7 separate regions of the Homo sapiens genome follow, and regions 2, 3, 4, 5, 6 and 7 are each linked to region 1. The links are contacts of gene promoters, found by promoter capture Hi-C in blood cells and fetal thymus (Javierre and others, 2016). All regions are on one chromosome and are shown on one strand. The core of a region is centred on a gene start or on the middle of the fragment in contact, and the rest is flanking DNA. Distances in the headings are between cores, read along the strand shown.

Region 1 (3,557 bases), core at 402-2,901:
AGGACAACCAATGTGAATTCATCATGAATTCTATTCTTATCTGCTTCTGGCTTCCTGCAATAATTAGGTTACTGGGTATCCAACCCTTCGGTTGGGTGACCAACCATCCCAGTTAACTTAGGACTGAGGGGTTTCTGGGATGCTAAAATGGGAAAAATCCCAGGCAAGCCAGAACAACTTGGTTATCCAACACATTCCACCTGCTAACTTCTCTCCACTCTCCCCTCATATTGCCCTTGTTCATGCCTTTGCAAAAAGCTTCTTGCTGTACCCAGAATGCCCTCACCCACTAGCAAGACCCCTTGTGTAACCCACATACTTAATCAATAACACTTCTTATGACCTTTGTGTGATCATTTTGTTTCCACATCTATCTCCCCTGTTAGACTGTGAGCTCCTGAAGGAAGGAGACTGTCTTACTCAGTACATTATCCCCCACCCCAGCACTGTGCCTAACACTCTCCAACTCTGGGTAAATAAATGAATGATATTCAAATAGCACAACCCCTTTCTGGCATCTAATTTTCCAGATCTACAGAACAGTGGGCAGTCAATTCCCTCCCAGAATCAAGGGCTTGTACAATTGGATATAAACTCCCACTCATCCTTCAAACCCCACTCAGACATTGCCTCTTCTGGGATCCCTCCCAAACCTACACCAGGTATTCAGTCCCAATTCTCTGTGGACTCTTTACTTATATCTACTTCTCTTCCAGAACAGATGGCCCCATATTGTCATCTGTACACATGGCTGCTCTAGAGGATGGTCCATGTGTCTGTAGATATTGCTGGAGTCAACAGCTCTCTTGTGTTGCCATAAATGCTATATTTTGCTACAGCTTTGAAAGGCTTTAAATATTTGAAGATTTACTTAGGAAATTCTTAGCATAGAAAATAATTCAGGTGCATACTTTTTGAAAATGCGGTAATGCTCTGAAAACAAAACCAGGGTATCATAATCAAACCAAAAAATCAGATATTCTGGTTTGGAGTAAGACGCCATATAAGATTGCTATGACTGATTTTGGTCTAATGCTTCACTCTAACACCAGCCTGCATCCTTCCTTTGTGGCTCTACAACAGATTTTCTAAGACTACTTGATGTCATACCTAAGCCAGTGAATCTATGTCTTTATCATTCTCAGCATTACTGTGAACAGACTTAGATCCATTCACAGTTTAGTATGTCAAATATAGATAAGTAGTTCATTAAGCTGGCAGTGTGGTGCCCACCTCCTCACCTTCTGCTGGAGCTCCTCAATGGTCTTGAAGTAGGACTGGTAGCTGGGGCACAGCAAGGGCTCCTGCTGCTGAGACCGCTCCCGGATGAGGTTCTCCAGCTCCGCGTTGTCCCGCTCCAGCTGACGCACCTTCTCCAGGTAGCTGGCCAGGCGGTCGTTCAGGAACTGCATAGTCTCCTTCTCGCTGCCATTGAAGGAGCCCTCGCAGAACCAGTTGCAGTTGCTCACATTGGCAGGGATGTTGCAGGCCCCGGGCAGGGTGTAGCCGTGGCAGCTGGGGGGCACACAGGGCCGGGAGGAGCAGCTGGTGCGGCAGCTCAGGCTGGGCAGGCAGAAGTTGTAGGGCATGGTGCAGGGAGGCAGTGGAGCTCTGGAAGTCAGTTTCAAAACCTGATTCCTTTTCCCTGGGATAAGCCTTGGTCCTTTCCAGGGCTTTATATTCTGTTAGCAGTGGGTGTGGCAACCATGTCAAGTATTCCTCCTTTTTACCTCCTTTGCTGATTTTTCCATTTGTTATTTAGCCACTTCACCTGAGTCCTATACCTCATTAAATGTTTTACTCTGGCTTCTTGCTAAGTCAGGACTCCTCACAAAACATGCTGATTGGTTAAGTAAGAGCTTCATGGTTTGGCTTCAAAGTGACCAACCTTGCCTGTAGCAGTGCTTATCCATGGGACATTGAGCTAGAGTGACAGCTGGGCCCTGTCCCCAGAGTAGGGGGCACATATGTGCCTCTTTCTCCTAAATGAGGAAAGGCTTGTGTCTCATCCAGTTCATATTCAATTAAGACTCTGTGAGAAAAGCCATGTAAGGAAACCCGTCTAGAAACTAGACTATGTGATAGGGAATCCTGGAAGCTGAAATGAGAAAGGACTTACAAGGCCATTGGTTCAAGGCCCATTTGCAGTTCCATCCAGGCAGATGGAGGCAACTCTACCCTCTTCCTATGGGGCTGCAGGAAGCCACCCACCTCCGTTTCTACTAGTATTCAGTGTTCACAGAACATTAAGAAACCTAAATTTTGGGAGCACCTACTCTGCATGAAGCACTGTGCTCCATGCCTGTGCACAGCGTGACTCTGTCATTGGTGATGGGTCCTGCTTGCTGAGCCTCCACTGTGCACCAGGCACAGTGCCAGGCACCTCATATGCACCAGCTCCTTCAGTCCTCTCAAAATGCTGCAAGGGTTTGTAGATAAGGACCCTAAGCCTCTGAGAGGTCTCCCAAGGTCACAGAGCTCCTACATGATGGAGCCAGGGTTCAAATACAGATCTCTCTAATTCCAATGTCCACACTCTGTCATATTACATGTCTCTCTCTTCCAATCTTTTCAGTACTGAGATGCAATAATGCAAAAAATACAGATTGAGCTCCATTGAGCTCAATCAGTGCTGACAATATCCTAAATTAGAATGGGCCAAAAAATAACAAGCCTGTTTTTTACTTATTAAAGAACCAAAAGTCACTTCTATGCTGAAGGAAGGAAGTTTACTAAGTGAAAATGCCTCATACCCACTAGAAGCTTGAAAAAAAAAAAAAAAGGAAACCCTTGGTTGATCTGAGGGAGAAATACCCAAGCCTAGCTCTCCAAAGGATATGACCCTGAAAATCCACCACTATGTCATGTGCATGAAGTGGCATTTTATGACCATTGGCACATTTTGGCAAGCAGATGCTCTACTCTCATGCATTCCAGATGGAACTATGAAATATGAGGATTTTATGTTTAATCTATCAGTGCTCAAATTCTGAAAGATACTCCTCCAAGTTGTTCCTTTTGGAAGCTACATATTAAGTCTTGCCATACAAGAATTCTTTTCCTACAGGTGACCTGCCATTCCTCAGATCACCCTTCCTTCAAACTTGCCTTCACAGCTTGGGACACATTCTTTTGGTTATCCTCATTGAAGGCCAATCTTCATCTTCTATGGGTGTGTTTATTTTTGGAACCAGCCAGAAGTCATTTGAAACCACACCTAGTGCATAGGGTGAATAACCAAGCTGCATAGCATCTTTAATGGGTCAGAAACAGGTTGTGACTACAAAATAATAATGTGTGTTTTCTTGGGTGACTCTGGAAGTCATTTCCAAGGAGAAGCTTCAAATATGCTTTTATAAAGGACAGCAGCTTTGGGGCAAACATGTGGTCTTCCAGGGTGAATGCATTGAAGGTACTGATATCCTCCCCTACAATCACAATCCACAACTTTCTGCCCCTCCTGCCTGAATCTCTAATTTTTTTTTTTTTTTTTTTTTTTTGGAGACAGAGTCTCACTCTATTGCTCTATTGCCCAGGCTACAGTGCAGTGGTGCAAT
Region 2 (3,557 bases), core at 973-3,472, 510 kb before region 1:
AATGTTGTGTAGAGATGGGGGTCTCTCTATGTTGTCCAGGCTGGTCTTGAACTCCGGGCCTCAAGCAATCATCTTGCCTCTCAGCCTCCCAAAGTGCTGGGATTATAGGTGTGAGTCATTACTCCCAGCCTCTATTTTATTAGTAGTATTTCAAAAACTTCTCTCTATGCTCTTGACATTCTTGTTGGAATCAAGGCATACATTTCACATTATTACCATTCATCTTTTATTACAATTAACTCTATTAAAACAATACTACTTGATTAAAGCTCTATGATTAAAAAATATTCCGGGTTACCAGAAGAAAGTTCGTTAAAAGACTACTCCAGGTCCAGAAGGATATAAGGTAATTTTGATTTGTTACAAAGACCAACATGACCAAAATGACTTGTGACTGAATATTGTTTCAGAAGGGCAAAAAGGATTCAATGTGAATAGGGAATCCAAAGAAAATGGAACAGACAAAAATAGGGATTGAAGTAATACAGCATGTTACTCTGAAAGGAATAATTTCTACTTGTAAATTTCTTGTTCCTAAGGAACCAATCATGGGGCAGATCTTGTGAAATTTTACATTAGTTCTTCAATTTCCTGAACTTGAGATGAGACCACCTCACCATTCACCATCTCCTGCACAACTGTCTTGATTTTTCGGGTTTTGGTTGGGTCTAAAGATAAAAATGGAATAAGGGGGCAAGAGTTAGTGTTTCAAATATTAATCCAACACTGGTTGTTTAATGTAGGCTTCTAAATTAAGCATTGGTTGATACAATCCATCTAATTAAACTTTCAAAAGTAAATTTTACTTCTCAAAAATGTGTTTTAGCCAATGACAATGAAATGTATTCAGTGTTGCCTTGTACATATATGAAAACTTTTTTTAAGAAAACATTTCAAAGGTGGTTATGGTGATCATAATACCTTGCAGCAGAGTAGGTTTTTTCCCTTCTGCTTTGCCATTTTTTTTATTTTTTAATTTTAATTTTAATTTTCTTAAAGACAGGGTCTGGCTCTGTTGCCCAGGTAGGAATGCAGTGGCATGATCATAGCTCACTATAACCTCTAACTCCCGGGCTCAAGCGGTCCTCCTGCCTCAGCCTCCAGAGTAGCCGAGATCACAGGTATACACCACCACACCCAGCTATTTTTTTTCTTAAGTTTTTTGTAGAGATGGGGTCTCGCTATTTGCCCAGGTGGGTCACGAACTCCTGGCCTCAAGCGATCCTCCCACCTCAGGTTCCCGAAGCTATGAGGTTACAGGCATGAGCCACCATGCCCAGGCCCCCAAAAGTTTTAATATGGTATAGACTACTCATTTTGTGCAGGAATGCATAAATGTTTTTCCTTGGCTCAGAATATAAATATGCTTTAAATTAAAATTAATAATAATGCAGTAGTCAATGAGGTCTTACAGGTTTTGCATTAATAAATGTGATTCCGACTTATTCTAAGTGATTCTAGGGTTTCTGCATACCTTTAGAGGAATCAGTTGACTGTGCTTGTGATTTGGAGTCTGTCACAAATAAACTTTCCTCCAAACCATCACTGTAAGAAAACAAAGGAGATGACCTCAAAAAGTGAAACAACCTGGCTTTTAATGGAAGATCTGGTCTGAGAAATTAGATTTCCCAATTTGTAGGCCTGAGTTCTTCCAACTAGTGCAGACTCTGATCACTTTTGGAAAGCTTGTTAGAGTAGGTGGTTCAGGTGGCTACTATGTGTCCTTCTTATCATCAGGTCTTTGATATCAGAAATTGAGTAAGTGACTTTTATAGTACAGGGAGTACTCATTTACAAACTGTTTCTGACCGTGGTGCCTTTGTTCTTTGCAGCATTTTATGAATTATCAAGTAAGATAATGGGTGAAAACACTTTGCAAAGTGTAGAGCATTTAGTAAATCCCAGGCATATCTTTACTAGACTTGTGTTTGTTTGTTTGCTTTTCTGTCAACTAAAACCCCATTCCTTCTATTTCTGCTGCCCACTCTTGGTCAGCCCCTGAAGGTGTTTACAGCCTCCGTTGTCTGCTCACCCTTGGGCCTCCCCGTCCAGCAGGCGGCGGTAGGTCTCAATCTCCAGCTCCAGGCGGGCCTTGACATTCAGCAGCCGCTGGTGGTCCACGTTCTGGCGCTCTGCGTCCGCGCGCACCTGGAGCAGCTGTGCCTCCAGGTTGCTGATGAGCTGCTGCACCTGGGACAGCTGCGCGCAGTAATCGCCCTCGGCTTCGGCCAAGGAGTCCTCCAGGGATTTCTTCTGCACGTGGGAGGGAAATGGCATAGAAATAACGATGGAGGGGACCGAAAAGAGGAGGGTAGCCAACGGCTAATGTAATTTGGATGCAGCATTTTCTTTGGAAGTCCAAAGGATGCTACGTCTGTTTGCGCACGAGCCTACCATGGCGAGCTGGGACTGTAGCTCGATCTCCAGGTTCTGAAAGGCGCGACGCAGGTCGGTGACCTCGCTCTTGCTGGACTGAAGCTGCTCGGTGTTGGTGCTAATCTCCTTACGGAGCTCCCCGCTCTGCAACAGCAAAGACAGCCAGGGGGCTCGAGCGCTGAGCTCGTTCGCAGGCCTTTCTGTGAATGTATCAAAGCCTTTGTTGTTTGTGTTACCTTTTCAATGAACCAGGCTTCAGCGTCCTTCCGATTCTGCTCAGCGATGGTTTCATACTGCGCCCGCATATCATTGAGGAGCCTGGTGAGGTCCACTCCGGGGGCAGCGTCCATTTCTACGCTGACCTCGCCTGGGCCGCCCACCCGGAAGCTTTGGAGCTCCTGGGGACAGCATGTGAGAGAGAGGGGCACAGGGGTCCATTGTGACTTTCGTGGGCCCTGGATACTTTTGTCCTCTTGGGCCCCTTCCTACACACACACACACACACACACACACACACACACACACTTAAAAATTCTATCTTATGACTGTTGGTATAAAGACAAATATATTAATGTAATACATTAAAACTTTTTTAACCTCAAAATTCATATTTTTCTTCTGATATTACAAGAACTTAAGACATATTCATGGGTCCCTGAAATTACCACAGACCCTGGGAGCAGTGCCTGCTGTGCCTAATGGGTAAGTTGGCTCTGCTTCTTGAGGGACCACGACCTTCACGTGAAAGGAGGCCTGGCGTACACTCACTGGGGTTTTCACCTACAGCTGCCAAACCGAGGGCTGCAGACAGTACCTGGGCTTGCACGCTGTTTGTGCCACAATCATCGAAAATCTAGTAGAAACTTCCTATTGCCAGCATCCCTTCCCTACCTAGCCTCCAATATGCACCATGGCACCTCAGAGTTTTCTGGTGTGCATTATGCTAAGTATAACCAGTTTCTCTGACATATAAAACATTATATATTATTGGTAGACTTTTGTTTTAACTTTTAAAATACTCAGTCTTTTTAAAATCACTGAATTAGGACTGTTAGCATTCCTATTGTCATTGCCTTATAATGAAAATGACAAAATCAGAAAGTGCCTCAAATTTGTTGAGCCTTAGCAGGAACCACCATCACTACTACCAACACACACACATCACACACACACATACCACA
Region 3 (3,557 bases), core at 698-3,197, 490 kb before region 1:
ATGACGCCAAGGTTCAGGCCTGGAGCAGCATCAACCTCCACATTGACAGTGTTGCCCAGATGCTTGTGTAGGCCATCGACTTCCTATGAAAGTGAAATTTCTGATTGATTTTAGTCTGAAGCACATTCTCAGATAAGGCTGGGCAGAAAAGACATAAGGAGTCTCATGACCTCTTTCATTGGGAATAAGTAAAAAAGATATAAAATAATAACTTGTGTTGGGCTTATTGTGGTCCAGGTGCTGCTCTAAGTCATTTAACTTACAACAACATTATGAAAAGAAGGTAGGGCTTGTATCATTATTGTCATCGTCATCATCTCTGTCACTATCACCACCAACTCTTCCCCCTTCTCCTGTTTCTCCCGCTCCTCCTATTATTAGTATTATATAGAACCATTCCATTGTTTCCAATACCACTTCTGAATATTTTCTCACCTCCTGATGCTCCTTTTTGAGGAGAGCTAGGTCTTTATTCAGTTCTTCAATTTGAATCTCCAAATCTGTTTTATGTAGGGTTAGGTCATCAAAGACCTTATTCAGGCCTTGGAGATCAGCTTCCACTGTTAGACGTATTCCTCTCTCAGTCTCATACCTGTGAATTAATTAGTGTACAGAGATAACTGGTCCTTCTGAAGCCATTATAAGGAGAGAATCTAATATAATGGGATAGGTTTTTAAATGTGGCTTATGAGGAGATCAATTTCAATACTTTATAATGTCTGCCTTTACACAATCATGAAATTTACATAAGAACCTAGGAGTCAGAAAATGTGCTCAATAATATAATCTCTATAATTTGGGGTGACTGGTAAAAAGGCAATCTGAAATAATTTTGAACACTTCTAAATTCTAGAATTTATCTTATAAGAAATTAAATTGTGTTAATTATTGTGTTGGCAAAGGGTTCTTATTATTGATATTAAATAATGGTTAGTTTTACTTAATGAATGTACATGATCGATTTATTTTTATTACTTTGTGAACAGAGACATCCAAAGTGAATTATCTCAAACAGCTCTACATCCTCCTCTACAATCTTACATACACACTGTGTGTGTGTGTGTGTGTGTGTGTGTGTGTGTGTATTTGAGACAGGGTCCCACTCTGTCACTCAGGCTGGAGTACAATGGTGTGATCATGGCTCACTGCAGCCTCAACCTTTGGGGCTCAAGCAATCCTCTCACCTCAGCCTCCCAAGTAGCTGGGACAGCAGATGTATGCCACCATGCCCAGCTAATTTTTTTTGTATTTTTGTATAGAGATGTGGTTTTGCCACGTTGCCCAAGCTGTTCTCAAACTCCAGGACTCAAGTGAGCCTCCTGCCTCAGCCTCTCAAAGTGCTGGGATTACAGGCGTTAGCCATCATGCATGCCCTGCCCAGTTTCCTAAAATATCCAACTTTAAAAAATGACACTGCAATGTGACACTCAGTGCTAGGTAAAATTGGAAGTAATGCACCTTTACTGCTTTCATCTTTGGATTTGATTTCCTATTTCCTTCTTGTTAATCCCTTGGAGCATTAAAAGGCTACCCTTCTAACCACAAAGGGCTTTTTGGTGTTAATGCATTGTACAAATTCAGGATGAAGAGGCCTTAGTGTGGAAGCTGTTTGCAAGGAACAGGTCTGGTCACATGTGGTGTGATGACTACAAAGAAAGTGAACACAATTTTTACTTTCTTTTTCTTTTCTTTCTTTCTTCCTTTTTTTTTTTGAGACAAGGTCTCAGTCTGTTGCCCAGGTTGCAGTGCAATGGCACGATCTCAGCTCACTGAAACCTCCGCCTCCCAGGTTCAAGCGATTCTCCTGCCTCAGCCTCCGGAGTAGCTGGGATTACAGACATACGGCATCACGCCCAGCTAATTATTATAGATTGGTCCTGGTTCTTTGGTTGGCCAGACCATCCTGTAAAACACTGGCAAGCCAGAAATCATCAAGAGTCACCCCTGGAACTTGGGTCATACACTTGCAGGCACTTGAATGAACGTGGAGAATTACTTGGAGAATCACCAAGGGTAGACACAAGACTCTCTTTAGATAACAGAAAGGCACTTAGGGAGAAGGAGAATTGTAAATTACTTTGTTATTACTCCAAAGGGCAGAATTAGGTTTAGATACCAGGTTACTAAAAAAAAATTTAGCAACCAGTAATAACCAAGGAGAATAGTAGTTACTGGAGGTGTTTAGTTACATGCCGGGGGATCAAGAAAGAGAAGGCCATCCCTGAGTGCTGGGTTAGCTTCATACATGTAGCTTCTAACCTCCTTTAGGCTTCAGGATTCTGGACATTGAACCGTGCTTCCTTTATCAACAATGATATGGAAAGCTGAGTATCTGGAAGGACTACTAAAGGAATTCTTTTTCAGAAACTTTTGCCACGTATTAGGGAACCTACTTCAGTCTGAAGTCCTCAGCAGCCAGTTTAGCATTATCAATTTGCAGGACACACCGAGCATTTTGCAGTTGAGCATCCTTAATCTGGAAAATACATGAGAAAGAATGACATTTTCTTTTTTATTTATTTATTTATTTATTTATTTATTTATTTATTGAGACAGAATCTTGCTCTGTTGCCCAGACTGGAGTGCAATGGTACGATCTCGGCTCACTGTAACCTCTGCCTCCCAGGTTCAAGCAATTATCCTGCCTCAGCCTCCCGAGTAGCTGGGGTTACAGGCATCCGCCACCATGCCCGGCTAATTTTTGCATTTTTAGTAGAGACAGCATTTTGCCATGTTGGCCAGGCTGGTCTTGAAGTTCTGACCTCAGGTGATCTGCCTGCCTCGGCCTCCCAAAGTGCTGGGATTACAGGCGTGAGCCACCGTGCCCGGCCAAGAATGACATTTTCAACTGGATAGGAGTTTACAAGGATTTAGTTTATCCCCAGCTACAGTGACTATTATGTCAAAAATGATGTTCATTTCAAGTATTTCTACATGAAAATATATAGAAAAAATAATGACATAGTTATTTAACATAACAGAGTCATAAAATGCAACTCTAGATGCCCCAGGGTTTGGTCTACTTTCTTGTGATTTTACAGAAGGATAATTTAACTCAACTTGAGTCATCACACCTTATTGAGTGCCTTGCCTTTGATGTTTCTACTTAGGACATTTCTTTTAGCCCCTGTGGTCTGGTGAACTCCCATTCCTCCCTCATGTCTCAGGTTCGACAACATTGCTTCATAGGAGCCTTCACAGATGCTCTCAAAACTGAACTGGATGATCTGCCTGTGCTCTCATTATCCCTCTGTGTGCTGGTCCCTCTGTCCATCCCTGTATCCTCATAAATCATATTGTGTCCACCATAATATTCCTCAGTCCCCAGCATGGTGCCCAGCACCTAGTTAGTGTTCATTCAGTATTGGCTGAATGAAAGAACATGATGCATGAAAGAACGAAATGCATGATGGAGGCATATAGATGAAAAATCTACTTGCAGAAGATGTTACAATGACATTTCTCTTTCAATGGACCCAGTTTTGGAGAGGGCTGCTTCCTATGGTTGGGACTGTCCAGCTCAATGGGACGGATGGCCTGTGCCTGTGTATTTCAGA
Region 4 (3,557 bases), core at 766-3,265, 470 kb before region 1:
AGGCAGAGAAGCATCAGCGTTGAAACAGGGTTCCCTAGTGACCACAACCGTTGTAGACAGTACACCTTTTTGTGGTTTAGGGTTTTATTCCTGTAATATGTTTCGTAGCCTTATAAATCCGGGGCTTTACACCTTGCTGGGGACTTACTAGGTGTCAATGGAGATGTGGTTTATTAATTGTATTCTTTTTTAAGAATAAGTTGCTCCTATTTGGCTTTCACAATGCAGCTAATATTTTTGATGCCTCAGGTTCTATGAAGGCCTCATTGTTTGGCGTTTTCTACTTTTTTAAGCAATGAAAATGTGGAAAAGCCTGGAGCAATTTCTTATGCGTTTGACACATATGTTGAGGGATATTAAATAATTGCTGCCCAGAGTAAAATATAACAGGTTTTTATGGCCAACCCTTATGTTGACAGAGTGTACAGGCTGGTAGCTATGTATACTTTTTCAAAATAAATGCATCTCTGTGAAATGAGCTATCATCTGAAAGCATGGAGTAATTAAGGAGCAATATATTTGTTCCAAGGAACTGACATTAATGTTGACACACGATGTTTCTAGGCAATTTGATCTATACCAATAATTCACTTTCTTCCCTACAGCAGGACTCATTTTGTTCCTAAGTCATTGGAGGCTGTATTAGAGATTTATCTGGTGGCTTTTTAAAAGCACATTATTTACTACAGTGTGTGTTGAGCCACCATTTATGTTTATTGATCGTAATAAGTATGGCATTCAACCAGAATTTGGATTCAGGTTTTTAATATCTAATTTAGATTCTTTCCCTTGATTACACTGACATAGGGCCTTAGCATTGTTAAAACTGAAAAACTATACAGCAAATTTGACCCTAGATACAATGATCAATCAATCGAAGAGCAAAAATGGAAACCAGTTATTCTGGCTGGTCACAATCTCGTATTAAAATGACTGATCTGGGCCTGGCACAGTGGCTCATGCCTGTAATCCCAGCACTTTGGGAGGCTGAGGTGGGTGAATCACCTGAGGTCAGGAGTTCAAGACCAGCCTGGCCAACATGGCGAAACCCGGTCTCTACTAAAAATACAAAAATTATCTCGGTGTGATGGTGGGCATCTGTAACCCCAGCTACTCAGGAGGCTGAGGCAGGAGAATCGCTTGAACTTGGGAGGCAGAGGTTGCAGTGAGCCAAGATTGCGCCAGTGCACTCCAGCCTGGGCAAGAAGAGCGAAATTCTGTCTCAAAAAAAAAAGAAAAAAGACTGAGGTTTGTTATAATGATTATGATCATTTTGTCTTTGCCTTTTTATTTCTTAGTATCCCAGAAATTATCCAACCAACATTTTTGATGTGGAAATGTGAATGAAATCTCTTTTGGTAGAACTACAAGAAAGATTTTAAAGGTCGTATTTTTTCAGTTTTATCAACATGGACTTAGTAAGTAGCATAACGTCATCAGACTGATCTGGTTCAACTTTTATGTTACAGAGTTGTGAGTTGTTGTGAGTTGTTTTTCAGTTCCATGGACCCCCTGAGCATGCCCAGATGAACCAAGTGTGCAGGAACCTAAGTGCTTGGACTAAGGAGTGGGGACTGAATTAAGAAGCGGACACCCCATGGCAGGGTCCAGTCAGATCATGCCTCCCAGCATCACCTCATTGCAGGATCAGATCATCCTCATTACCCTATGGTTATGAAACCTGACCTAGCCTCAAGCTCAGGGAGACAGATTTGAGCATTTCCTTCAGTTTCCTTGTCAGTCTACTCACAATAAACCTTTCTCACTGCCAAAACCCAGTGCTTTGGTGCTTGACTTAACTTTGCCTGAGGGCAAACGGACCTGGTTTGGTTTGGTGACAGTAGTTTGTGTGTTATTTTAAAGCATTGGTGTTTTAAAATTGTACTGAGATATTAATATACAGAGGTAATAATCCCCAAAGTAAAACTATCATCATAAAACCTTTTTGGGATGGAATAGCTCTTTTTTTTTGAGACAGAATCTCGCTTTTGTTGCCCAGGCTGGAGTGCAGCGGTGTGATCTCGGCTCACTACAGCCTCCACCTCCCAAGTTCAAGTGATTCTTTTGCCTCAGCCTCCCGAGTAGCTGGAATCACAGGTGCGCACCACCATGCCCTGTTAAATTTTGTATTTTTAGTAGAGATGGGGTTTCACTATATTGGCCAGGCTGGTCTTGAACTAACCTCAAGTGATCCACCTGCCTTGGCCTCCCAAAGTGCTGAATTGCAGGTGTGAGCCACCGCACCCAGCCTGGAACAGCTCTTTTAATGAGAAAAGAATAAAGTCAATTTGAAAAAAAAAAAAAAAAAAGGCTTCAAACCCGAGCCTGATTCAAACATTTTAAATCTGTCTTTTAAAGACCATTCCAAAACTTATGCTTTTATCATAAAACAATTCATTGGTAATTTATTTTGGATTATTCTTCTGTATTTCTCCTTGTAAGTGTATTTGCCCAGTGTGTTACTCTGACATGCCCCATGTTAGTAGCTGAACCGTTATTAACTATTGATCTATACCAATAATTCGTTTTGTTCCCTACTGCAGGGCTCATTTTGTTACTACATCATGTGAGGCTTTCTTAGAGATGTACCCAGTGGCTTTTTAAAAGCACACATTTTACTACCATGTGCGTCTGGTTACAATTTATGTGTGTGTATGTATGTGTGGGTATATATTACCTATATGCAGTGTATGTATATATACACATATATATGTATATATGTGTTCACAACATTCTGATGTAAAGGATATGTCAGATTTCTATGTTCCTTGATTTAGAGAAAAAAGGTTGATGACTTATTTTTTCCATTTTCTAATTTATTGGGAAATACGATATACATACATTTAACAACAGACCAAAGGAAAAAATGAAAGAATGCCTCCATCCTGGTGTGCATATTCATGTGCTATTCAAAACCACCCCACTTCACTTTTTCCTCTTTTTTCCACTGATGATTCTGAGCACTCTGCTAATGTTATAGATACCCAGGATTGAAAACACAGACTTTAGAGATCTGGACTTGAATCCTATTTCTGCTACTTGCTTGGGCATGGTTCATAACCTCTCTGAGCCTCACTTTCCTCATATGGAAAGTGGAAGACCATAATAATGGCCAGCATGGTGGTGGTGTGAGGATTAAATGAAATGCCATATCTGAAGTGCAGGTACAGCACCTGGCATGTAGGAAGCACCCAGTGAGGTGTAGCTTCTTAGTGGCAGCCGTGATCATAGTAGAAGTACTGTAATTGTAAACTTGGTGGTGGTGGCAAGGAAAAGGCCACTAACATTTACCCTTCAGTATGCACTGAGCTAGTAGCATTGTGTCATGGATGCTCACTGAGCCTGTGCAGCTAGTACAAGGTAAGCTGAAGGACAACCCGGAGGAAAATATAATTGAGAAAACACATGACTACTTTCAAACATTTACAGTGACCCAGAAGTATAAGTGGGAGGAGCCATGAATGATTTACATAGAGGATCCACATCTCAGATATTTATGGATTACTTAAGATAATAGACTGTGTACTGGGCATTGAGGACAGAAAGATGGATAAGAC
Region 5 (3,557 bases), core at 511-3,010, 460 kb before region 1:
CTAGCTTCCTTATTTTGTCTTCCTAATAGTGACTCACACCGCAGTAGGCAGGAAGCAGGTATTTAATGACCACTTCTTCACTGGTTCTTTATTCCAACTCCATTCATTCCAATACAAATTTCTTGAAAACAAAGAATAATGACATCCATAACACAAATGAAAGCAGCCTGTCTAAGCTGATTTAATTTAGTATGGAATAGGACGCAATTTCACAGTTAGAGTTATTGTTGTTTATTTTTTTTTATTATTTTTTTTTTTTCAGATGGAGTCTCTCTCTGTCGCCCAGGCTGGAGTGCAGTGGCGCAATCTCGGCTCACTGCAAGCTCCGCCTCCCGGGTTCACGCCACTCTCCTGCCTCAGCCTCCCGAATAGCTGGGACTACAGGCACCCGCCACCATGCCTGGCTAATTTTTTGTATTTTTAGTAGAGACGGGGTTTCACCGGGTTAGCCTGGATGGTCTCCATCTCCTGACCTCGTGATCCACCCGCCTCGGCCTCCCAAAGTGCTGGGATTACAGGCATGAGCCACTGCGTCTGGCTGTTGTTTTTATTCTTAAAACTTCAGCCATCATTTGGTTCACTGAAGAAAGAAATGGCCCTTGAAGAGAATTTAGAAAGATTTTTATAAGTGAATACTCACTTATACATAAATATAGACGTATATTTTTTAGTGCTAGTTAGCTAACACAATAGACAATCCTGGACAAGTGTTTTCCATCCTCTCCTGTGAATCTGATTTGTGAACCTCTCATAGCTTTTACTACGCATGGAGTCCAGGAAAAATTTGGGACAAAGTGATCGATCTTAATTTCTAGACTTCATTCTGTCTTCTGTTCTTGGTGAGAACCTAAGAAACATCTTCCTTCCAGGCCTGACTTAGTGCTCTTGCAGGTTTAGCTTGCTTGGAGCAAGACTGTGCTAGTGGGATTCTAACGATGCCACCTTTCCTGCTGTGTTGTTTATCCTGTTCAGTTGATAGAGGACCTATTGAGACTGGTTTATAGACACGACACTCACTGTGGGGAATGCATCGAATTGCTAATTGATCAAAATCACCCATAATCTTGCGACTCGTGGATCAGCAGCCTTAGCATCCTCTGGGAGCTTGTTAGATGTCCAAAATCTTGGGCCTCAACCCAGAACAATTAGATCAGAATCTGCATTTTAACAAGATCCCCATATGATAAGTATGCACATTAAGATTTCGGAAGCACTGACATATAAGGCTTGGGACTGGGTGGTGACCTGAAACTACTGCTTCCTAGGGTGCTGGGGATGATACATGAACATTTTCACAATATTTTTTTTGTGATGAATCTCTGGATAAAATATTCTCAGCTGATGACTGTTGATGGTATTGGGTGTATCTGTGGCCTGTCCATTATTACTACCCTGTCTTTGTCTTTCTTGTCCTATCATATTCTGTGAGTGTGTGGGGAAAGAAAATTTTGATAGAAAACAGGAGTGAGTGTGGAGTCTAACTGGACAGGTTGGGGTCTGAGGTCCTCCAGGTTTGGAACTTGCTAAACTCTCTCAGGGAAGCAATCATCGTCCCTGATGCTGATTCGTTTTAGGCTAAAACAAGTTAAGAACACACCTCTGTATGAAAGCAGTGGATGCTTTGAGGTTTGATTAATGAGAAGGTAGCTTTTGGTTATAAAAACCTGTCCTCTGGTCCTGAGTGTCTATTTCTGACTCATGGATCTTGTCAGAACAAGATCCAGGTAAATGATGTCAAACTACCAATTGCCTCTGAAAAATATGAGTTCTGATTTTCAAATAGAAAATCCAGATTTCTCATACCTGGGCTCTTACCTTAGATAAAAGCCATCAGCAAGGGCTCATCAAAATGTGTTGCCCATATTCAGATTTTACATAACTCTCTAGCAAGCACTTTTGACTTGTGTGGCACAAAGAGTAAATATACTGGGTACAAATTCTGTTTCCACCATTTTATAGCTGTATGACCACAGGCAAGTTAATGCAGTCCATTTGAGCCTCAGTTTCCCCAATCATAAAATAAAGATAATGATATGCCACAAGGTTTTGATAAATGTTAAATGAGATTGTGAATGTAAAGCTCAGTCAAGGATAGTTGTTATTTAAAAAACTTCTGGTACATGTGTGTGTATGTCAATGCATACATGCTATGCTGCGTATGCATACCATGGAATTAGCAAAAATTGACTTGTAGTTTCTATTAGATGACTCATAATTTTATTAGATGAATTCCCATTTAAATTTCAATGGGAAGTTTGGGTGAGTAGGACAACCCATGTACTGAAATAGTTACACACACACACAAAGTTCAAGGTAAAACTTCTGAGTATGATTAGATCATCAGATCGTTAGGTATGTGAGAAGCACTGTCTTTTCCTTTTTGCATGATCTCACCTCCAGTATATTTTAGAAACTCTCTAACTCTCTTCAGAGAGATGGTGACACGTAGATGTTGTAATAGAATAGATGAGATGGGAATGAGTCACACATGGGAATGAAAGTAGGCCTATAGTCATTCGGAAAACCAATGTTGTTACCATAGGGAAATAACCAACAAAATACTTCAGGTGATATGTAAACACCAAAAATCTGAAAAGTATTTATTGATTAAAAGCTGTAGAAAAGTATAGCATTTAGAGTATAGCATTGTGAATAATCATGGCTAGAATAAATGAATTATACTCTTAATGACTTTTAAATATTATGACTAGAAGCTACGTAATAATTATGATCACCTTAATTTGTAAATGACTTATAGTTTCTTGGTGAGGGAGAACATTGCTTAACTATGTTGAAAAGAGATCTCCTTTCAGTGAAACTGTTGGTTTGTGTGGTATTGGAGGCATAAATATTTGTAGAGAAATTGTTAATGTCCCTGGAATGAGGAACTAAAAGAGAGTCAAAAGGAATTGAAACTCAACGAGAAGAAAAAGAATTTCCTTGGGCATCCCAGCATGCTTAAGTGAGGAGCAGGGGATGCCCTGACTTCAGGTTGGAGCTACACTGCTTGGTCCCACTTGGGAAGGAGCAGAGAGGAGAGCTGTGAACATCATGTGCAATGGCTTTACTCTTTACCATCTCTGAAGAGGGTAGACCTTTGCTTTTCTCTTGAAAGTTTTGATGTCATCTATTGTTATTAGACCAGGACTTTCATTAGAGGTCCATGTCAGTGTTAAAATGACTAGTATGCTGGTCAAAAGTTTGGTGGGATGCAAATGAACTAGTTCGCCTTAAATCAGCTATTGTCACTGAGCAAATAACAGAGTCTTCTGTTTAAAATACTCTGTTTCACTTGCCTATTGCGGCATGAAAAATGACCCCAAAACTCACTGGCTTAAAACAACCACCATTGTATTTGTTCACAATTATTTTGTGGGACAGAATTTTGGATTCAGAATAGCAGGGATGGCCTGTCTCTGCTCTGTGATGCCTGGGGGCAGTGGCATTGTCTTGAATGGCTGGAAACTGGCTGGAATGGCTTGACTCAGTCATATGCCTGGAGCCTCAGTTACAGCTGTTGCCTGGAGCTTCAGTTATGGCTGTTGCCTGGATTCCTC
Region 6 (3,557 bases), core at 406-2,905, 440 kb before region 1:
CTCATCCACAGCTGAAGATGTTAAAAGGACTTTAGGTTCTGATCCTTTTCTTATTGTATTAGGTTGGTGAAAAAGTGATTTTTGCCATTACTTTTAATTAGTTCAGCCCTCCAAAAATACAAAAATTATTATTTCAGGTGAACATAATTCTTACTTGTGATAGCAATCATGTTTCTAATCAGTGTTACTGAGCAACGCTAACACTAATATTCAATGTATTTTGTAATAGTCATCACAGAACACATTTTTTTTTTGCCCGAAGTGACTGTAACTTGAAGGTGTGTTTATGTCATTGCAACTTATTCTGTGATGAGAATGTGCTCATTGTAGCTATTAAAATATTAACTGAAATAATTCCTTACCATCTAAGGAAAATGCTTAAGAAGCTTCAGTAGTGGTAAAGCCTCCAGTTAAAGACTTTCACTAGATGTTCGTATAATTTTTTTTTTACTTTGAAAAGAAAAATAGTATTGAAAGCACTTACTCGAGCAAGTGTGTATACATTTATGATTTGTAAACACTTGTAGGTATGTTATAGTCAGAGAAATAGCACACATTTGATGTATGTCACTGTCTTTAGGGTAGAAGATGTCTCGTTGTCAAAAGTGTAATAATGCTTTTACGCCAAGTGTTGTGCTGGACTAGAAACTTAGAGCTTTTCTTTGGTTCTGGCTCTGTTCTTGACCATCCATGTGGATGCATCAGGCTGCATCACTCTACTCTCCAGGCCTCAGTTTCATCCATTGTCAAATAAGGAGTCTGTACTAGAGACAGAGGACCTTAGAGGTCTTAGCTCTAAGTTTCTGTAATTTAGTTGGAGTCAGAGAATCCTGGGTAATTCCCATTATATTTACATAGCTCATTCCTTTATTTAGAAAGCATTTTCTTAGGACAAAGCTATACTTCAGTACAAAGGCACCTTTTAAAAGTCTGGTCCTATTTAAAGCTCCACTGATCCCATGGAATTTGGTATCATGAATGCACAATAGCAGGATTTAGAGATGGCATGAATGCTGGGTCTGGAACTCAAAGAGCAGGGCCTGGGATCCTGCTCCGCGCTTACTGGCTGGGTGAGATTGGCTGAGTGAGCTTGGCTGAGTCTCAGTTTATTCATCCATAAAATAGCAATAACAATAGTTACTTCATCAAAGAGTTATGAGAATTAGAAGAGAGTATGTCAAATAATGTCAAATAGCATATTATCGGCATATTATAGACAGTGAAAAATTGGTCGAAACTGAATTTGTTCAGAAAAAAGTAAATAATACACCTTTCTTTTTAAAAATCTAGCACTTTTATAGATTCAGTGACTACACTGTGAACATCCCCAGGTTCTATATGCTGAGATGCCTGCTCAGACTTTTGCTGTTCATGGTGGGACATAGCCAGGCTGGCTGCTCCTGCCTCATTCTTTTTCCTCTTGTGGGATTCCAAATGGTACTATGGCCCCTTCCCTTGCTATAAAGAAGGACACTTTTAGATATTTCCTTGTCTCCTCTCCACAGTGCTGCTTAGGGGCATTCTTACCAATACTTCTCCCTCCAGACCCCTTATTCTTTGCATTATGTAAGCTCCTGCAAAATGAAAAGTAGCTCTATCCCAAAGAGCCTGGGGGCCATTGTGGGGTAACCCTTACTTACTTGTGCACTGAGGTTTTCTATTTGACACACACTATGAGGTGTTAATCTACATCCAGAGAATCAGAAAATCAAAAATACTGTCTATGGGCTTATTTAGCTTTTCTGGGTTAAATTGGTAATTTATCCATTGCAAAGTCCACCTCAAGTGTCTGATTCCCCCAGCTATCATTCTCATAGCACACAAATGTGAATTCTGAAATGTGCTTGATATAGAGCACGTTTAAAACTATTTCCCATTATTCAGGCTTACTTAGTACAGAATTATGATATAACCATCATTTCTGACACAATCTTCATGGTAATAAGTGGATGAAGATGGGTTGAGAAACGATATATGAGGCATAGGTTTTTTACTGAGTGTTGTAATTAATCACCCAGATTCTCCTGAAGGCCCTCAGTTCATTCTTTTAAAAGCAAGTTGGCATATTCTTGCAGCATTGTTGCTTCAGGATGTTTGATCTACTAGGGAGAGGAAAACAGAATGTTTGACTGTAAACAAAAATGCCAAATATAGTCCGATTGAGAATCATTCAAGGTGTTTTATTTATGATACTCCTATGACTGTGTCCAATTCTGGATTTCAAAAGGATTGAATTAATTTTTAAGCTCAACTTGTTATCAACCTTTTGAGTGATATTTAATATACCTAAAGTGAGGGTACGGGAGAACTGTATCCACTCAGAGCATTTCACCAAGGTCCAGGAAGGATAAGCCCCAGGTAATTGTGGGACCTCCTTGCACCTCTGTTTTCTCATCTTCAAATGAGGGAGGTTGGGGTAGATAGACAACCTCAACTTTAAAGAGTTTCTTTCTTCAAGTGTAGAGAAAACACAATGTTAGAGGTAAAAATCCAGAAAAGAGTGAAATTCAAAGCCAAAGAAGTTTCCTATTCAATCTCAGAACCCAGAATTCCAGGTCATCTGAAGGGTGGGCAGGTTGCTCCCCACACCCCCCATTGCACCTACTCACTTTTCTCAATTCTGTTCCAAAGGATTTAGACAATGATTAGGTCTCAGTCTCCTTATCTGTAAGTTGAGAATACAAATACCTGCTCCACACAGTTGTGAGGATTAAATGAGACAATGTGTATGAAGTATGTGATGTGTGGTTAATGATGCAAGTATAATGCATTATCTTTATTCATACTAAGTGTCATTTTTATATGAGGTGGGCTAGGCAGCACTACACTGTAGTGAAATTTATGAGGCTACTGGAAACAGACCTGAGTTAGAATCCCACCTCTGCTTCTTGCTGATGGCTTTGGATGGCTATTTCACTTTTTTCCAAGCTTCCATTTCCTTACAGGGTTCTTGCAGAATCAAATAAAATAATATGGAACATTTCCATCATTGCAGAAAACTCTTGGATAGTGTTGACATGTGTATTAAATATCCAGCAGGATGCCTAGGTACATAATAAGTGCTCAGTAAACATTTCCCTCTCTTTCCTCCCTTTCTTTTTTTTAAATCTCTTCCGCGAGCTCATAAATTATTTGACTGGTTCTAACCTTGTATTTCTTTTGGGAGTCATGGTCTCCCTTTGCTCTCCATTTGCAAAAATCTTCAATTCCTCCTTTCTACAACCAAAGCAACTTTATTAAACAAAAAAACATGATGAGGACTGTTGAGTCACCTTGTTTTTTTTTTTTTTTCATAAAGACAACCATGCACTATATAGTTAAGGTAATTACAGTCAGTTATTAGGTTGATTATTCAATAATTAGGGTTCATTACAAGGACAGATTTATATTATCTTGACTGGTCCTTCCTACATTCAAGCAAGGATGACTGAGCATTGTGAAATAATATATATAAATATTGGAAACTTGTGATACCCTTTCTAGGGGAGGTTAAATCATGGTCTTACAGGGAATTTTCTGGGACTGCTTTATATAAGAGGGGAGTTAGATAGCTTTAA
Region 7 (3,557 bases), core at 624-3,123, 410 kb before region 1:
CTTTCTAAGGAAATAAAAGTACTGATAATTCAATCCCATTATTGTGCGGCATGGATGAGTCAGTTAAATTTTCTGCCCAGCAGTTTCCTCATCTGTGAAATGGGGCTATTAATAATATCTACTTCATGATGGGGTTGTGAGGATTAAATGAGTTGATGATATTTATTAAATTATTGGTCATTATTGATTAACTCCATTTTATAAACAGGCGAATAGACACGAAGGAGGGGGGAATCTGCATGTGTGGTTGTCTATCAAGCTATGCCCAAATCTAAAAGCCTCAAATAAGTCATCAAGTCATTCAGATCTTTAAGCCAAAAGCCCCCATCAGTGATAAAGCAGTGGCTTTTAATTCAGTGCACACACTTCAGCTGAGACTTTTGTTAAAATTTGGATTCCCAGGTCCCACAGCTGGAGATGCAGATACAGGAGGTCTGGGGTAAGGCCCAGGAATCTGAATGATACAGACTCCCCTATTAATGCAATTGCAGGTGGCTTCTGGGTCACACTGGAGAAGTTTTGGCGGGACGTCAGGTAAGGGGTTACCACTAACTGAACTCTGGAGGAAAAGTTTCTGGGTAGTCTCTTCTGATCAGCAATTGCTGGAATTGGCTCTGGGAAGTAAGGATGCAAAGGGTGTGGGCTGTGTGATGGGGGCAGGTGATGGGGGACAGTTAAGGGGTGAGAGGCAAGGAGAAAGGGGGAAGCGTGGTTACTTACCTCTGTGTTTGGAAGAGTTTAAACTAGCTATGACATGAAGTGGAGTCAACAAGAAGAAAGGAAAAAAATCTAGAAAAAATATATCTAAAATATCTCCCTTTTTAAGAAATATAATTATGGACCCTCAGAGTGAGAAGCAGAGATATAGGATTTGACCTCAGGCTCTGGACACCATGCTGTGTTTCCTGATTCATGGTTGTCTTTCGAACTGTGCTAAAATTACACTTTCCCTCCCCACGAGCCCCTTTTCTGCTCTAGCTGCTGACTTATGCTGAACTGTCATAAAACCTTAAATTTCCTCCTGTGGCTGTGTAGGATACTTATTTAGCCTCCTAGTAAAAATCCAGTCTCCTTATTGCCTTTAAAAGTTTTGACCACATGCATACAACCAGCAAATGGTTTTACATTCTCTTATACGAAGAAGACACTTAAAAAAAAAAACAAAACTGCAAGCCTTCGAGTGGCTAACTCCCCTCTTTACTGTGCAGCTTATAATCATATATTTTTTAAAACCATGAATGGCATGGGGGATATTTTGCTCTCCATAGGAGGAAGGCATCCTACTTCTAGGATAAACTGAAAATGGCACTGCTGCATCAGTTCAATCTTAGCTTGAGTCCAGTGAGATTCCTCAACCCTAATTTTGTAGCTCGGAGCAGATTTTAGTGTGGATGATATATATCAAGGTCCACCTGGGCCCAGCACTGAACCAGAAAGAAAGGAAGAAGGTATTGATGGAAACGACATGTGTCTAGGTTTAAATATAGGGAATAGGAATGCCCTTCTGCAAAGCACCTTACAGTTTATGAGACCCTTTCACCATTATTATTCCATTTTATCCTTGCAGCCGTGTGGTAGGCAGGGCTTATATTGTTATATCCTATTTACTCGAGGTCATACATGCCCAGGCTGGATTGAGACTCCGTCCCAAGGTTTCTGAATCCCAGTTCCATGCTCTTTCCACATTTTCATCCTGCAGCCTGAGATAGTACGCAGTTAACTACTGACCGGAGGTACTCTGCCCACTCAGATGAGAGAGAAATTATTGATTTAAAAGAGGTCATTCTGGGAGTTCTGCATTCCACTTGCCTAGTGTAAGTTGCTACTTGTCTGGAGGAAGTAAATCATCAAGCTGTAAGTTACACAATGCATGTGTCTTTGATGTGGGCATCAGGCATTATTGACTCATTGATATGCGATACATACCCTAAGAACTGAAAAATGCTTTATTGAGTAGAATTGTGGGCCTGATCACAGGAAATCATGTTTTTTTTTCTCCTAAAAGTTAAACACTATTAAAACTCCAAAATCATGACTGGATAACTAAATTCATGAAGAAAGAATTTTAAAATGAGATAATTACAAAAATAGGTCTAGGGCTGTAGCTAAAAGCAAAACTTACATAAAAATTACATTGGGTGGTGCTTTTCAGCATTCAAAGCAGTGTCACATAAACAATTTCATTTGATCATCACAACAACCCTGTGAAGTAGGCATGATCCTCATTTAACAAACACAGAAATTAAATTTGATGAAGTCTAAATGTTTTCCCCAAGGTCACAGCTGGGAAATGCAGGTGTAGGACTTCAGGCCTTTTGACTACCCATCTGTGTTTGATTTTGAATTATTTCTTAAAACCTCTGGCAATGTCCAATGATTATTGTCAGGAATGACTTACATATTCTGAGACTATCCTGTAAGAAGCTGTGATGATGGCTGGTATATAAATGATGCCTTCTCACATTGGGACTGCCTTGCACTTACAAGCAGCAATTATTCACTATTGCTTTTCTGCAAAATGTGTGGATATTATGTCCATTTACTCTGATGGATAGATTGAAGCAGGAATCTAAGCTATGTTTTTCTTTGTCACTCTTCACAGGGAGGGGAAGAAGGGTTATTTCTTGAGAATTCCAGCTAAATGTTCCTTGTCAAACAATCAGAACAAACTCCCATTCCCTAAAGAATAGAAAGAGAAATAGCAAATGTTTAATGAAAAGACCCATGCTATTTCTTCAAAGTGTTCTAGATTCACTCCCCACAACTTATCTGATTCTCAAATAAAATATTTGGAGAGCCTAATAGGTCACAAAGTTTTGGAGACCATGGACATTTAAAAAAATATCTTTGGAAAGGTAAAGTATGTTAGTATAGATAAATCATAATTAAGACAGCAGAGTTTAATAGGATCCATACTCGTGACTATCTACACAAGTGAATTAAATATTAAAGATCTTTTCCCCTATTTATACTGTTCCCATATATGTTTCTTTCTGTATCCAAAGACATTTAGAAGGGAAGGTTGTAGCTTTTCACCTTCAGGTGCCGGTGGCCAAAAACAACCCTAAACTTGTCTGACTGGCTCTAAGGAGGAATGTCGGTAAACAAGGCCTGAGTAAACAAGAGAGAGACCTGCCCATCAATCACCTGGGTAGTCAAGCAATGTAGGCCATCTTCCTGGGTGCTTACAAATCAGTTCCCATCCCTCAGATAAATGCAAAACATCCTTCCAGAGAAATGTAATTTATTATCATGTTAGCAGTGGTGAGTTAGGGAAGGAGCAGAATAAAAGATATTCTACCTAGCAATGGGGACCCGCTGTAGTAGTAAGAAACTAAGTACCTTAAGGGACTGGGGAGTTTTCTTAAACCTCTCTGGCAGGAGCATGTATTGGCCTCTGTTTCATAAATGTGGGTCATTTTCATCACCTTGGGATGTTAGACTTTGGCAGGTCTGATGATGAAACAAGGCTGCACATGCTCGTAAGAAGAAATGACCTTCCCATCCTTAATCTCCTTGGTGATGGTGCAAATTTTAACCAGTATCCGGGACAGGGG

Evidence for each region. Contacts are between HindIII fragments. The CHiCAGO score rates a contact against its expected background, and 5 or more counts as called.
Region 2: a fragment that was not itself captured here is called in contact with the fragment with the promoter of KRT33B in region 1 in 7 of 17 cell types (M1 macrophages, naive B cells, megakaryocytes and 4 more); the score reaches 7.3 in M1 macrophages.
Region 3: a contact is called between a fragment that was not itself captured here and the fragment with the promoter of KRT33B in region 1, in 6 of 17 cell types (M2 macrophages, neutrophils, M1 macrophages and 3 more). The highest score is 7.3, in M2 macrophages.
Region 4: a fragment that was not itself captured here is called in contact with the fragment with the promoter of KRT33B in region 1 in 14 of 17 cell types (M2 macrophages, naive B cells, neutrophils and 11 more); the score reaches 11.2 in M2 macrophages.
Region 5: a contact is called between a fragment that was not itself captured here and the fragment with the promoter of KRT33B in region 1, in 11 of 17 cell types (naive B cells, total B cells, naive CD8 T cells and 8 more). The highest score is 9.9, in naive B cells.
Region 6: a fragment that was not itself captured here is called in contact with the fragment with the promoter of KRT33B in region 1 in 10 of 17 cell types (total B cells, naive B cells, naive CD8 T cells and 7 more); the score reaches 9.8 in total B cells.
Region 7: a contact is called between a fragment that was not itself captured here and the fragment with the promoter of KRT33B in region 1, in 2 of 17 cell types (total B cells and naive B cells). The highest score is 5.4, in total B cells.

What each region holds. Positions count from the first base shown.
Region 1 is chr17:41,368,162-41,371,718 of GRCh38, forward strand. KRT33B (keratin 33B) reads right to left here and starts at 1,652. Exons shown (of 7, transcript NM_002279.5): 1 at 1,242-1,652. The coding sequence starts at 1,589. The HindIII fragment of the contact is 2,505 bases long and covers 257-2,761 here.
Region 2 is chr17:40,861,091-40,864,647 of GRCh38, forward strand. It overlaps KRT12 (keratin 12), which reads right to left. Exons shown (of 8, transcript NM_000223.4): 4 at 2,613-2,774; 5 at 2,395-2,520; 6 at 2,033-2,253; 7 at 1,475-1,545; 8 at 213-668. The coding sequence ends at 571. All of the region lies in intron 1 of LOC105371777 (a long non-coding RNA gene), which reads left to right. Among named protein-coding and RNA genes, the nearest start is that of KRT12, 4.4 kb to the right of the region's middle. The HindIII fragment of the contact is 1,078 bases long and covers 1,684-2,761 here.
Region 3 is chr17:40,880,179-40,883,735 of GRCh38, forward strand. It overlaps KRT20 (keratin 20), which reads right to left. Exons shown (of 8, transcript NM_019010.3): 2 at 2,394-2,476; 3 at 436-592; 4 at 1-83. All of the region lies in intron 1 of LOC105371777 (a long non-coding RNA gene), which reads left to right. Among named protein-coding and RNA genes, the nearest start is that of KRT20, 3.3 kb to the right of the region's middle. The HindIII fragment of the contact is 6,076 bases long and covers 1-3,557 here.
Region 4 is chr17:40,896,658-40,900,214 of GRCh38, forward strand. All of the region lies in intron 1 of LOC105371777 (a long non-coding RNA gene), which reads left to right. Among named protein-coding and RNA genes, the nearest start is that of KRT20, 13 kb to the left of the region's middle. The HindIII fragment of the contact is 7,559 bases long and covers 1-3,557 here.
Region 5 is chr17:40,912,995-40,916,551 of GRCh38, forward strand. The region is part of intron 1 of LOC105371777 (a long non-coding RNA gene); the gene reads left to right. Among named protein-coding and RNA genes, the nearest start is that of KRT23, 23 kb to the right of the region's middle. The HindIII fragment of the contact is 3,918 bases long and covers 1-3,557 here.
Region 6 is chr17:40,931,836-40,935,392 of GRCh38, forward strand. All of the region lies in intron 2 of KRT23 (keratin 23), which reads right to left. All of the region lies in intron 1 of LOC107985072 (a long non-coding RNA gene), which reads left to right. Among named protein-coding and RNA genes, the nearest start is that of KRT23, 4.0 kb to the right of the region's middle. The HindIII fragment of the contact is 2,542 bases long and covers 385-2,926 here.
Region 7 is chr17:40,955,164-40,958,720 of GRCh38, forward strand. All of the region lies in intron 1 of LOC107985072 (a long non-coding RNA gene), which reads left to right. It overlaps KRT39 (keratin 39), which reads right to left. Exons shown (of 7, transcript NM_213656.4): 7 at 3,254-3,557. The coding sequence ends at 3,438. Among named protein-coding and RNA genes, the nearest start is that of KRT39, 10 kb to the right of the region's middle. RefSeq lists an enhancer at 1,372-2,571. The HindIII fragment of the contact is 4,733 bases long and covers 1-3,557 here.